Regions from separate parts of the Homo sapiens genome. Here regions 1 and 2 are each linked to region 3. The links are contacts of gene promoters, found by promoter capture Hi-C in human tissues and cell types (Jung and others, 2019). All regions are on one chromosome and are shown on one strand. The core of a region is centred on a gene start or on the middle of the fragment in contact, and the rest is flanking DNA. Distances in the headings are between cores, read along the strand shown. Region 1 overlaps MYO1B (myosin IB). Region 2 has its middle 22 kb from the start of STAT4. Region 3 holds the start of MYO1B (myosin IB).

Evidence for each region. Contacts are between HindIII fragments. The study calls those that stand out against the background at their distance.
Region 1: a contact is called between a fragment that was not itself captured here and the fragment with the promoter of MYO1B in region 3, in 2 of the 25 tissues and cell types used here (IMR-90 fibroblasts and mesenchymal stem cells).
Region 2: a contact is called between a fragment that was not itself captured here and the fragment with the promoter of MYO1B in region 3, in 3 of the 25 tissues and cell types used here (bladder, hippocampus and liver).

What each region holds. Positions count from the first base shown.
Region 1 is chr2:191,325,290-191,329,026 of GRCh38, reverse strand. All of the region lies in intron 3 of MYO1B (myosin IB), which reads right to left. Among named protein-coding and RNA genes, the nearest start is that of MYO1B-AS1, 81 kb to the right of the region's middle. The HindIII fragment of the contact is 3,039 bases long and covers 864-3,737 here.
Region 2 is chr2:191,170,994-191,175,019 of GRCh38, reverse strand. It overlaps the pseudogene HMGB1P27. Among named protein-coding and RNA genes, the nearest start is that of STAT4, 22 kb to the right of the region's middle. The HindIII fragment of the contact is 6,101 bases long and covers 1-4,026 here.
Region 3 is chr2:191,242,603-191,246,764 of GRCh38, reverse strand. MYO1B (myosin IB) reads right to left here and starts at 1,361. Exons shown (of 31, transcript NM_001130158.3): 1 at 1,139-1,361. It overlaps MYO1B-AS1 (MYO1B antisense RNA 1), which reads left to right and starts at 590. Exons shown (of 4, transcript NR_186085.1): 1 at 590-846; 2 at 2,692-3,145. RefSeq lists a silencer at 1,051-1,440 and an enhancer at 853-1,475. The HindIII fragment of the contact is 14,933 bases long and covers 1-4,162 here.

The sequences.
Region 1 (3,737 bases), core at 1,134-3,633, 81 kb before region 3:
TGTAGAGACAATTAATGCTTGACCCCTTCTTTCAGGAGTTCTCCGTCAAAAGGAGGAGAGAAAGAGAAAGAGAAAATGGAGCCAATACATTAAGCCCAATGATAAAGGTATGTGCAAAACATGGCAGAACAAGACAAACCTCAAAGGGGTGGAGAATGGACTCAGAGAAACTCAAGAGGTGGAAAACTCAGTCCTAAAGAATGAATGAGCAAGACAAATGTCTTTTAGACAAAAATAAAGGCCAAAACATCATGGAGGTGGGGTGAAGGATTATGTGCAGTTCGATGTAGCTGGAAGGCAAAGCAAAGCATAATGAAGAGAGGATAAGAGATGAGCTGCGGAGAGAGATAGGCAGGTTCCAAATGAAAAACAAAAGAGCTGATAGGAAGCTTCAGTGCAGGATGGATAAGACAGTAATTGGAATTAATAATATCCAATTTACCATGTACCAGAACTGCCTCCAAGCTCTTTACGTTTAGTCATTTTAAATCTCACAACAAGACCAGCACAAAGCAAAGGCATAACTTGCTGAGGTCCACTGCCAGTGTGACACAGCAGGGCCAGAGCTAACGCCTGCGACTGACCACTGGGATAAAGCACCTTTGCATTTTGCATAGACCACAGGGTGACAAGGGTGCAGAGAGCAACCAGTCTGCAGCCAGGAGACTGGTGAAAGACTGGGATACAGGAAGAGTGTATATTTGGCCAAGTAGATCACAGAGAGCTGTTCACACCAGTCAAGGACTTTGGCTTTTCTTCCAAAGGCATACGGAACCATAAATAATGACAATTTACTGAACACCTTTGATGTGCCAGGAGCCCAGTAAAGTGTCCTAGGATTCACAATTGGACTTAATCTTCAACACAGACCTGCAAATTAAATGCTAGCCTCCTTAAAGAAACATGGTCTTAAGAGATGACATGAGAAGCCCATGATCCCATTCTCAGAAGAGTCATAACTTGAACCCAGAAATACTGTGAATCACATTCTTCCCTCTCTCATCATGTTCTCCTACAATTATTTGCCAGCATATCTTACCTTCCAGCTGAACTACTGTGAGATCCTCAAGGATAGCCACCCCTAGTCTTATTTTGTAACCTTCATATCAGTGAGTCTGCTGCCTTGCATATAATAAGTACTGTATACTCTAAGTGCATTTGTTGAATGAATGTATGAATAAAACGACAGACAGAAAAAAAGTAATAAAAAGATCCTGACACCAGGGTCTTTTTTGAATAACAGCTTGTTCTAGCTTGTTCCTTTGAACAATGTGCACTGATCTCTGTCTCTCAAAGGCCTTTCAACCATTCTCTACACAACCAAAGCCTTGCTCAAGCTTCACAGCTGCTTGTGGCCTTAGCCTTCTCTCACATTCTGATTCCCCAGTCTGTGCACCATTGCATAATGGGGATAGTGGAAAACAATGAACACAGAGGCAGAAAACATCTCAGATGCAATTCCCTGGGCCCTATAGATGTATCTCAACACCTACTTGACTTCAAGCAAGTCATTACCATGGCTGAACTTCAGTGTCTTCATCTCCAACATGGAGAATGTAGCCACATACTTTAGAAGATCAAATAAAAGTGCATACAAGCACTTTGAAATTTATAAAGCCCTGAATAAATGTCAGAAAATCTTTGTGTGTTATAATTAGTTATGTACACACCTTCTTATTCCCTACCAGAATACAAACTCCTCTAGGGCAGAGCCTTTCTAATTAATCTTTATGCCATGTTTATGCCACAGAGACATAAACATGAAATGTAACCAATACCAAGTCATAAATGAAGGGATGGATGAATGAGTGGATGCTCTCGAAGCAGTGGCAAAGTCCCTACTGGAGTGAGCTCCATGAAGAATGATAAACAATGGGAAATTCATTTCTTCTATGACCTTCATGTAGGAAAGGAAAGCATTGCTTAGATTTTTTTATGAGCCTTCCTCCCCTTCTGCTCCTCCAATGTTCAGATAATATTTTGAGATGCCACTTTCATTATCATCATTGGCAAGAAATGCAGGAAAACACATTACAGTAAATACAAAAGAAGTTTTCCAATATATAATACGTACTCACTGAATTCTTCATGTATTGTTGAATACAGACCTTTTTCCCATGCTCCTAGGGCTACAACTTTGCATTATATTTACCACTGGTTCCAAAATAATGCAAAATTACTTCAAAAATGAGTAACATATATGGCGCGCGCACACACACACACACACACACACACACACACACACACACACACACATATATACAAACACAAGGCTTTGGAAGATCACCAAATCACCCTGTTGTGAGTTCATTTTAACTCAAAGAACCTAAGTTGAATACTTATTTTTTTCTTCTCTATCCAGGCTGAAATACTTAACTGCTGTCCTCAAAGACAGGGTCTCATTCATCTAACAGAGAGTATAATTTTAATAGAAGACAAAGGCTAAAAGGGATTTATTCTTTCAGGATTCTAGAGAGCCACTGAGTTCAAAGTGACGTGAAAATTTACCAATTAAAGTACTTAAGCACTGGAAAAATTTGCTTGTAACTACTGGCATACCCATCTCAAGGACAGTATAAATGTCATCAGACTTATTTCTTATAAACACAGATCTTCAATTTCTTTAAAAAAACAAGGGGTGGGGGCAAAAGGGAGGGCCCCAAAGAACACAAACCCCCTCCCAATCTTGTTCCTCTCCCTCTCTGGCAATAAGAGCACGTACCCATCATCAGCTCCAACATTTATAACTATAAACTGAAACCACATGCCAGTCTTCCAAGCCACTCTGTAATTAAGGAACCTAAATAAATCTTTAGAGAAGTCTTTAGTTAAAAACGGTTGTGACCCATATGCTTCACATTATTTTGTGACCGTGTCAGCATTGTTATTTACCACACAGAGAAATGAATGGTTAATTATAATATAATGACGATAGCGTAAGGGAGTAAACACAGTTTTAGTCCTACCACATTAAGGGCATGGTTTTATCCTCTTCTTCTGTCCTCTAGTTGAGCTCTAAGAATAGGGTCAGCCCGATGTTTAAAGGCCATCTCCCCTTCATTTCCAGATCAGCTACACGGCTGTTCTTTGAGAGCCAAACTTTCCCTAGCACTAAGTATGTTTCCAGACAGCTGTATCTATCACTTTTAGGTTTTAGAAGTTTGGTTTGGGGCTCATCTGTTATTTTCTGTCACGGTGGAATGCTGGGTTGCATGTTCACAATTGTCTAGCTGGTATTTTTGTTCCTCTCCCATCTTATTTCTGTTCAGAGTGTTCGTCAGAGTGGTTCTGCTTTCATGGCCATCAGACACAATGGCAGGGCTTCTTTTCCCAAAGCTCCATGTTCTCTACCCTGCCATTTCCTTCCTAGGTTTGTTTCACCTCAAGTGCAAAGCAGAAAAGATGTCTGTGACACCGAAATACATCCAAAGCTTATGTTCTTTCAAACATGGCCCCATGTTTCAGCCTCTCCAGCTCTTCCCTATAGAGTTGCTTGAGAAATCATTCTCCAAAGACAATCTAATCCATTCTGAGAACTGGTAGTTGGACCTCTCCATTAGCCAAAGTGTTTAACAGAACTAAATTTGTCTCAGGAAACTTACCTGAACTTAGATAACTGTTTCTACCTTCTTATTTCAAGTCATTTTCTTCAAAAGCTCTCAAAATGGTATTATTCCTTTTCATTTAATCTTGAGCCCTAGAGTACTTTCAAATAACACCAGGAAATTCTCCTTTGG
Region 2 (4,026 bases), core at 1,238-3,737, 73 kb after region 3:
GCTATCTAACTACACAATTGATAGTATAACTAAACAAAAAAGACACTTTACAGTTTAAAAACAAACCTTACACAGCCTTACATTTCCGTTTTATTTTTCTTTAAAAGGAGTGAGTTGTATGGGAGGGTTAAATGCTTTATAGACAAGGAAAAGAAACTGTGCTAGAACCAACTTATTCAACATCATCTTCTTCTTCTTCACCATTTCTTCATTTTCCTCATCTTCCTATTCTTCCTTCATTGTCTTGCTTTTTTTCAGCCTTCATGGCTCGCTTTTTTGCTGTATCAGGCTTTTCTTTAGCTCGGTATGCAGCAATATCCTTTTCGCATATTTCCTTCAGCTTAGCAGCCTTCTTTTCATAAGGCTGCTTGCCATCTGCAGCAGTGTTATTAACATCTCTCCCAGTTTCTTTGCTATGTCATCAATGGGTAGGCCAGGATATTCTCCTTTGATCTTGGTGATACTCAGAACAGAACAAGAAAAAGCCCAAAAGAGGCCTCTTGGGTGCACTGGTTTCCTTAAACTCCTCTTTTGTTTCCCCTTTAGGAGGGATTAGGTTTTCATTTGTCTTTCATAACAGGTTTTGTCTGCCTTTGCCATGTCTTCAAATTTTCCTTTCTCTTTAGCAGAAATGGCCTTCCACCTCCCTGAGCACTCCTGAGACAACTCTGAGAAGCTGACCGAAGGAGCTGGATGCTGCTTCTTGTGCTTCCTCCCAGCAAGTCTATACAGAGAATGCATATGATGACATGTTGCCCCATGGCCTCTTAGGATCTCCTTTGCGCATGTTTAGTAATTTTTCCTTAGCCACCAACAGAGTGGCCCAGTGCTTATCAATTCTCACTTTCCCCAGCACTATTTCTATGGAGCTCAATGTACTGCAATAGCCATGACAGTGGGAGCCAGATGCTGCCTCTCATTAGATTCTCTTTATTGGAAATTTGAACAGAAAAATATGGAACGAACTTTATAATGAACAGTGGAATGGGAAGTGAGAGAATTTCAAGGGAATGAAAGCTATGGAAAGTCAAAGGCATGTGTCATCTTGAGTTACCAGGGGGCAGAAGAAGTTGGTCATTATAGAGAGGAGAATGGAACTGATGTGTAGAACGAAGCTGATAACATAAAAAAGCAAGAGACAAAAGACAGGTATAGAATGTCTCAGAGAAAAACAGAAATAGAAAAAATAGAGGCAGAGAAAGAGACCGAGAGAGAAGCAGACAGATGAAGAGATAGAGGTAGATAGAAACCTCACTCAGAACTGCCACCATCAGCTTAATCCCCCAAACTAGAAACCTCTGCAGACATCTCCCTTATCACCCACATCCAATGTTGTCAATTCTACCTTCCAAAGATGTCTTTAAGGGCTGGGCACGGTGGCTTATGCCTGTAATCCCAGCACTTTGGGAGGCTGAGGCAGGAGGATCACCTGAGTTCAGGAGCTCAAGACCAGCCTGGCCAACATGGTAAAACCCCATCGCTACTAAAAACACAAAAAATTAGCTGGGCGTGGTGGCAAGCACCTATAATTCCAGCTACTCAGGAGGCTGAGGCAGGAGAATAGCTTGAACCTGGCAGGAGGCAGAGATTGCAGTGAGCCACTCTGGCAGGAAGCAGAGGTTGCAGTGAGATTGAGCCACTGCACTCCAGCCTGTGAGACAGAGACTCCATCTCAAAAAAAAAAAGAAAAAAAAATTTCTAAGATGTGATTTTTTTTTTTTTTAAGTCCTGCTGTCACTGCCGTCCAGATCTTCATAAGTACTTGCTGGGACTATGGCAAAAACCTCACAACTGGTCTCTCCCTACCCCAGTCTATTTCCAGCACTGTTGCAGATCACACTATCTTACACTTTGGTGGCCACGTCTTCGGGCCTGGCGAAACCTGCCTCATCTCCTCTCCTGTGAGTGCTAGGTTCCTCCAGATCCCATTCTTCTGCCACAGCAAATCAGGCCCTGACCTTTGTAAATGGGATTCCCTTGGCTTTCTCTTCTGCATTTGGCAATCTTCCATCCTGCCTTCAAAATCTGGCTCAAAAATACCTCAGTAATGCCTTTTCACCTCTTTCAGGCAGAGTTATCTTATAACAAAGTTCCTACCTTTCCCATTATACCGTGAGCTTTTTTTTTAGTTATCTCAGAATTCCCAGGACACAGCAAATGTGCGTTGTCTTGAACTAAATTTGTGGAATTTCAGGTAATGAGGGAGCCAGGACACTGCTGGGTGGGTGGGCCAGCTCTTATGATTCTGCCCCAACCCAGAGCCAGCCCCTAGATTTTCAGGTTTTTGTCTTCATCCACGTTTATCCCCACAGATCCTCTGAAAGCTCCAAACAAAATTTTCCCCACAGCTCCATGGTAACCTCAGCAGAGGCTCCTGGAGGTGACAGTTCTGGGATGCAAAGAAGGGCGAATGAAGTGGGGCAGCTATTTGTCCATGTGAGTATTTGGACTTCCTTGATACACATAAGAGCAATTTCCTTCCTTTTTGCTTTGAATCCTAAGAAAATGCCTCAATAAAAAATACTTAGGGGAGCACATGAATTAACTCACTTTCCATCACCTGAACCACTTAGCGCTTCCAACAAAGCTTTGGGGGGAAATCTGTATTTAATCAATGTTGAAACAATCACTCTGATGCAGAAATGCACACAAAAAGAGGACCAGCTTTTATTTTGCGTACTGTATTCCTTTTGACAGTGATGACTAATGGAGTAAGATTTTTGTTCACTAGAAGAAGCTCAGTAGCATGTATCAGGGCAATTAACTTGGAAATCTGTGAATAAGCATGATTCAGGGGCCTATTGAACATCAACTTGCAGACTCTTATGAATCCTGGTTGCTTCCATTGGCTGAAAAAATACTGTAAAATCTTGAATTTTGCAGTAAAAAAAATTCATTTTGGTTGTGACTCCTACTTGAGTCACATGGTATCAGATGGAAAATGAGTAGGAAGGAGAGGATCGCTGCCAACTAAAAGGAGAGAGGCTAGTCTGGACAGAGCATTTTGTGGGACACAGATTTGATTGTAAGCCAACTATTTTAAAAATCCTCATTCTTGCAAGCTAGCACATGACCTCTTTCCTAAGGGTGAGGAGATTCCAGAGGTACATATTTGCCATCTGGAGTGGATGCAAATTCTAGTGCAATTCATCTAGAAACCTGCATCATTGAAATTAATCATCATGTTGAACAAGGAGAGCATGCTGGGGCAGGGAGGTCAGTTTCACTTGATAAGAATAGAATGCACATTCTAGCTGGGAATGTGCTGACATTCATTGCATTCAGGAAAATTCTACACAAAGCCTCTCTCTCTGGAGAGGATTCCTGAGAAAGAGAAGGGCTCACTGTGTGGCATAGAAATGAGAACCCCCTCAAAGCCCTGGCTTTTGAAGGTATCCAGAATCACAGTGATTCAATGCCATTGGATACTGCTCTTTTTCTTCCTGGGAGGGAAACATCAGTCCATCAGTTCAAACCCTACAGGGTTTTCTGTGTTTGTCCTAATCATGTTAGAAGCAGAACGCCTAGTTAGTAATCAAGCACCAGTTGGAGCTGTTTCCTACCAAACGTATGGTTTTGATTTTGAAGCCCTCCATTCATTGTTCTTTAGCACTGTGAAGGGCTTGTAACCAGCTAACTGCTTCTCCTACTTTGGTCTGGGGAACTAAATGCAAATCTGGCTGATACTTCAGATGGGCTAGGGCCAAATTTTGTTGGTTTTTGTTAATGCTGTTACTTATTTTTGAAAGAGGTGTGGACAAAAAAAAAAGGGCAAAAGTTGGAATGGTATTTGAAGTTTGCTCGTGGTGTTTTAGGGAAACAGGAACATATCACTATAAAAGACATTTCCTTCAATATGGGTAAGAGTTCCTCATTGATTCAACTGAGCTCTTGAAATCTGAAATGTTTAGGGAGCAGTAGAAATTTGATAAGGGATCATAGACTCAAGGGGATGAGAGAAGATTTGAAAAGTCATCGAATATAACTCCTTGATTTAGTAAAACCATAATTCGTAGTTTTCCTCTG
Region 3 (4,162 bases), core at 112-2,611:
GTGGTTTCTGCCCTCAAACAGTCCTGGAAAACTGTTGTACTATATTATACTATAAAACAATTTTACGTCAAAATTGATTCTATAAAATTTGTCTCCTACCCATTCCAGCCAATATCCACTAGCTACACACACAGACCCAGAGGCACACACATACACACCAATACCATAGTTCATAGCAAAATTTTTTCAAATCTCAAAAAAAAAGGGGGGGGGGCTTCTTTCACTGTAACTAAGAAGATTTGCTTTGAGCAATCTAACATTGGGAACGCCTAGAAACTCAAGAAGCACACAACTTGTTGCAGCAATAAACGCTGGGCCGAAGCCTGAACAAAGCACTACAAATAAGCTCTAGAAACTCACATGGCCCTTGAACAAAATGTTGTGTGTTTGTAGTTACCTCTCCAGCGCGCTCTCATCACCCTCTCCCAACCCTCTCCCCAACTCTCTTCCCGGCCCCACCACCCTTCGTAGCTCCCGTCTCTAATCTGGTTTCCATTCCAGCCCCGCCCCCTTCCCCTTCCCTCTCTGGGACCGTGAATCAATCCCATCCCGGGCAGGAAACGAGACCCAGGGCAACCCCCTCCGCTGCGGCGGAACAAAGGAGGCGAGCGCAGCTGCACGCGCAGGGAGGCCCACAGCGTCCCGGGCCCCTCCTCCCCCGCCGCCGCCGGGGCACACCGCACCTGAACCCCACTCCCCAGGACGCCCCATTGTTCTCCCTCCGCTTTCCTGCCCGGAGGAAGCCACACCGTGTCTTTCCAGGGGGCCAGGAAACAGCTGTGGGCCAGAGGAATGGAGGGGCTGTGGGTGAACACGAGGACAGCCGAGATTCGACTCTGCCCACAGGTACGAGAGGCATGGGGCAAAGTAAGAGCAACTTAGTTTACAAGCCCTTCTTCCCTCCCGCCACCCCCGAAGCCACTGCGGAGTCACGACCACCCTCCGCAACCTACAGCGTGCGCCGTTCCCGCCGCAGCGCCGCGTCTCCCAAGAGAGCGGCAGAGCCCGCTGACCCCCGCCCGCAGGGTGCGACGGGGCCAGGGACCGCGGGCACAAAGGCGCGGAGCAGGCGCCTCGGGGGCCGACGACGGACGCAGAGGGAAGGGCAGGGGAGAGAGAGAGAAAGCGCTCGCGCTACCTCGCCTGGCGCTACCTCGCCGGGCGCCACTCCGCCTCCACGTCGTCCTCGCTCTCCGGTGGCGCTCCGGGACGCGGGCCCAGCCCGGGGCTGCGGGGCTCCCGCCGCGGCTGTTCTGCCAAGGCTGTCCCGCGGCTGCCGGCCGACTGCGCGCCGCGCGCTCTGGTACTGCCTCCACGCGCCGCGGTTGAGGCTCCCGTGCGCACCCAGCTGCGGAGTGCTCAGCGGCGGCGGGAGGAGCCCGGCCACTCCCCTCTCGCCCGCTGGCGGAGGGGCCGGCCGAGGGGCGGGGGCGGCGACCTCGCTGCCTGGGATTCGCCCCTCGGCGCGCGGGCAGGAACGGGAGCCACCGCCTCCGAGCCGACTCACCTCTGTCCGCCCGGTGCCGGCTTCACAGCGCCCCCCGGTGAGCGTCGCGGCGGCCTCCGCGCCTTGCGGGTTTGCGGCCCGACCCTCCGCACCCGGGGCGAGCCTGGATGGGACGAGGCTTGAGGGAAGGAGGGGCGATCGTCGCGGCCCCCACGGAAGGCAGTCTTTCTACCTTTTTTGCTTCCAGACTCACTGACATAAAATGAGAAATACAACATTTGACAACTCGAAGCCAGCCTGGGGTCACATTCCGGCAAACAGTGGGAGTAAGTCTCAATTTTTCCTCCTCCCCAAGATGAAAATTTTTGGATGCCGAGAATATCAGAAAATATTAGTTTCACAGAAAAAGAAAAAAATTATACTGAGTGGTGTGGTGTGTCTTCATTTACAAGACTTTTAGTATCTTTTAAATTACTTAATCTCACATTGTGGGAAATAGACACTGGCCAATTCTTTGTGTTATAAATACATGAGAGGTAGTTTAAAAGAAATTTCAAATACCCATACGTATTTGAATAGAGTGTATTAACAGGTCCTGAGTAATGATCAGTGATGGGGTATATTATACAGGCATGTAGGGGCCAGAGAATCAGGACACCCCCCCTACACACACACACACACCTTCTCACTCAAGCCCTATTGCCTCATTGGAGAATTTAGAACAATCCTCTTGACCCAGGTCCTGGTTTCTTCATCCTCGCACAGGGAAGGGTGCGCATTCAAACTTACTCACTGGGTGAGATGAGGATTACTTGGCTGAGGTGTTAAAAGCACTGTAGACACAGTAATTATTACTCATGGTTCTAACTACTTTATCCTATAATGAAATAAATTGCCATAAATGGGCCAGGTTTAAATGGACTGACCTGTATCTGGAAACTGTCACTAAAGTGAGGTGAACCAAAGAATTCAGACCATATATAGTAACTGTTCCCACTGGCATAAGAACCACAGGCGCTGGGATTTGTTAAATGCCACTAGTAGAGTTTGGAAAGGTGGGACCTTCACAGACTATATCTGCTGGGAACTGTCTCATCATTGATGTCACCATCAGCATCACTTCAGATGTACAAGTGGTGTGATAATGGGCGAAACTAACACATACTGGGTACCAGGGACTGTTCTTTGTTTAATCCTCACAAAAAGCTCTGAGGTAAGTTTCTCTCATTATCCTTGTTTTACAGACCAGCAAAGCCAAGGACAGAGAGGTCTTCAGGGAATACATGGCTATGGTGGTTTGAAGACTCCCATTAGAGAGTGGATATTAATTGCCCTCCTTTTGAATATGGTCTGGACTTAGTGATTTGATTGTAACAAATAGAATACAGCAGATGTGATGCTATGTGACTTCCAAACCTAGGTCATAAAAGGAGATGAAGTTTTCACCTGGCTCTCCCTTGGGACACTCACCCTTGGAACCCAGCTGCCATATTGTGAGGAAGCTCAAGCCACAGGGAAGGCCATGTGTAGGTGTTTGGGCTGATGGTGCCAGCTGAGGACCTGGTCTACTGCCAGTACAACTTATATCAAGCATGTGAGTTGGCGAGCTTTTGAAAGAACTCCAGCCACAGTCACTGACCACGCTGCCTGAGAGACCTAGAGAGAAAACCTAGCTGAGCCAAATCAGGCCCCGGAAACGTAAGTGATAATAATAAAAGATTGTCATCTGGGTGGTTGTTACATAGCAATAGACACCTAGAACAGTGACAGAGCTGGAATTTGAACCCAGATAGTCTGACTCTATAGTCTTCACTATCAAGCACACTACCTCAGACCTTGATAACCTAGCATAATGAAAACCCTGGAGATCCCAGCCTTCACAATAGGCAACATATGAACCTGCTACCTGGTGACGTGTGTTAGACTCACTTCTCCATTTTGCTTGTCTGAGTTTAGGTTCCCAAGTGACTGCTTATAGCAGTTTGGCAGTTCATGGAACTTCTGACCTCTACTGTCCAGTTCAGCTTTTCAAAAATAGCAGAAATGCAGATGGCAGGTTCATGAATATAAGATGTATACAAATTGAAGAGTGGGGGAATTCTATAAACTTTTGATCTTGGAAGGTGGCCAGATTTTAGAAAAAGTAGGTTTGAGACAACTATGTGCTGAGTAGGTCTATCAAAATAGCTAGCTACTAGAAGTAAAGTTTTGAAACTCCTGACTCAAGAAAGGGATAGGACACAGTTATGTCAGAACAGTTCGGCCTCTAGAAGGACCTCGCATAGTGAGGACAATTAAGACTTTCTCCATGATTTTAGCAAGTTCAAAAAAGAAAATAATAGAAACTGTAGAACTTATCCTAATAAACACTAAGAAAATGAACCAAGTTATTAGCCAAAAATATTTCTAGAGAAAAATCATGCTTCTCTTTTAAAAATACTGTTTACCTAGTTTTCATAAATCTCAAAACCCAAGTTTCTGAGGACATACAGGTTTTAAAACACTTTTACCTTCCTGGCCATTTTTTTCAAAAACCAATCAATCAACAACTTTTGAAATTATAAAAAGCAGATTAAAGTTATTCCCACAATTGTCAAGAATAGATAATAGGCTGGGCGCAGTGGCTCACACCTGTAATCCCAGCACTTTGGGAGGCTGTGGCAGGCGGATCATGACGTCAGGAGTTCGAGACCAGCCTGGCCAATATGGTGAAAT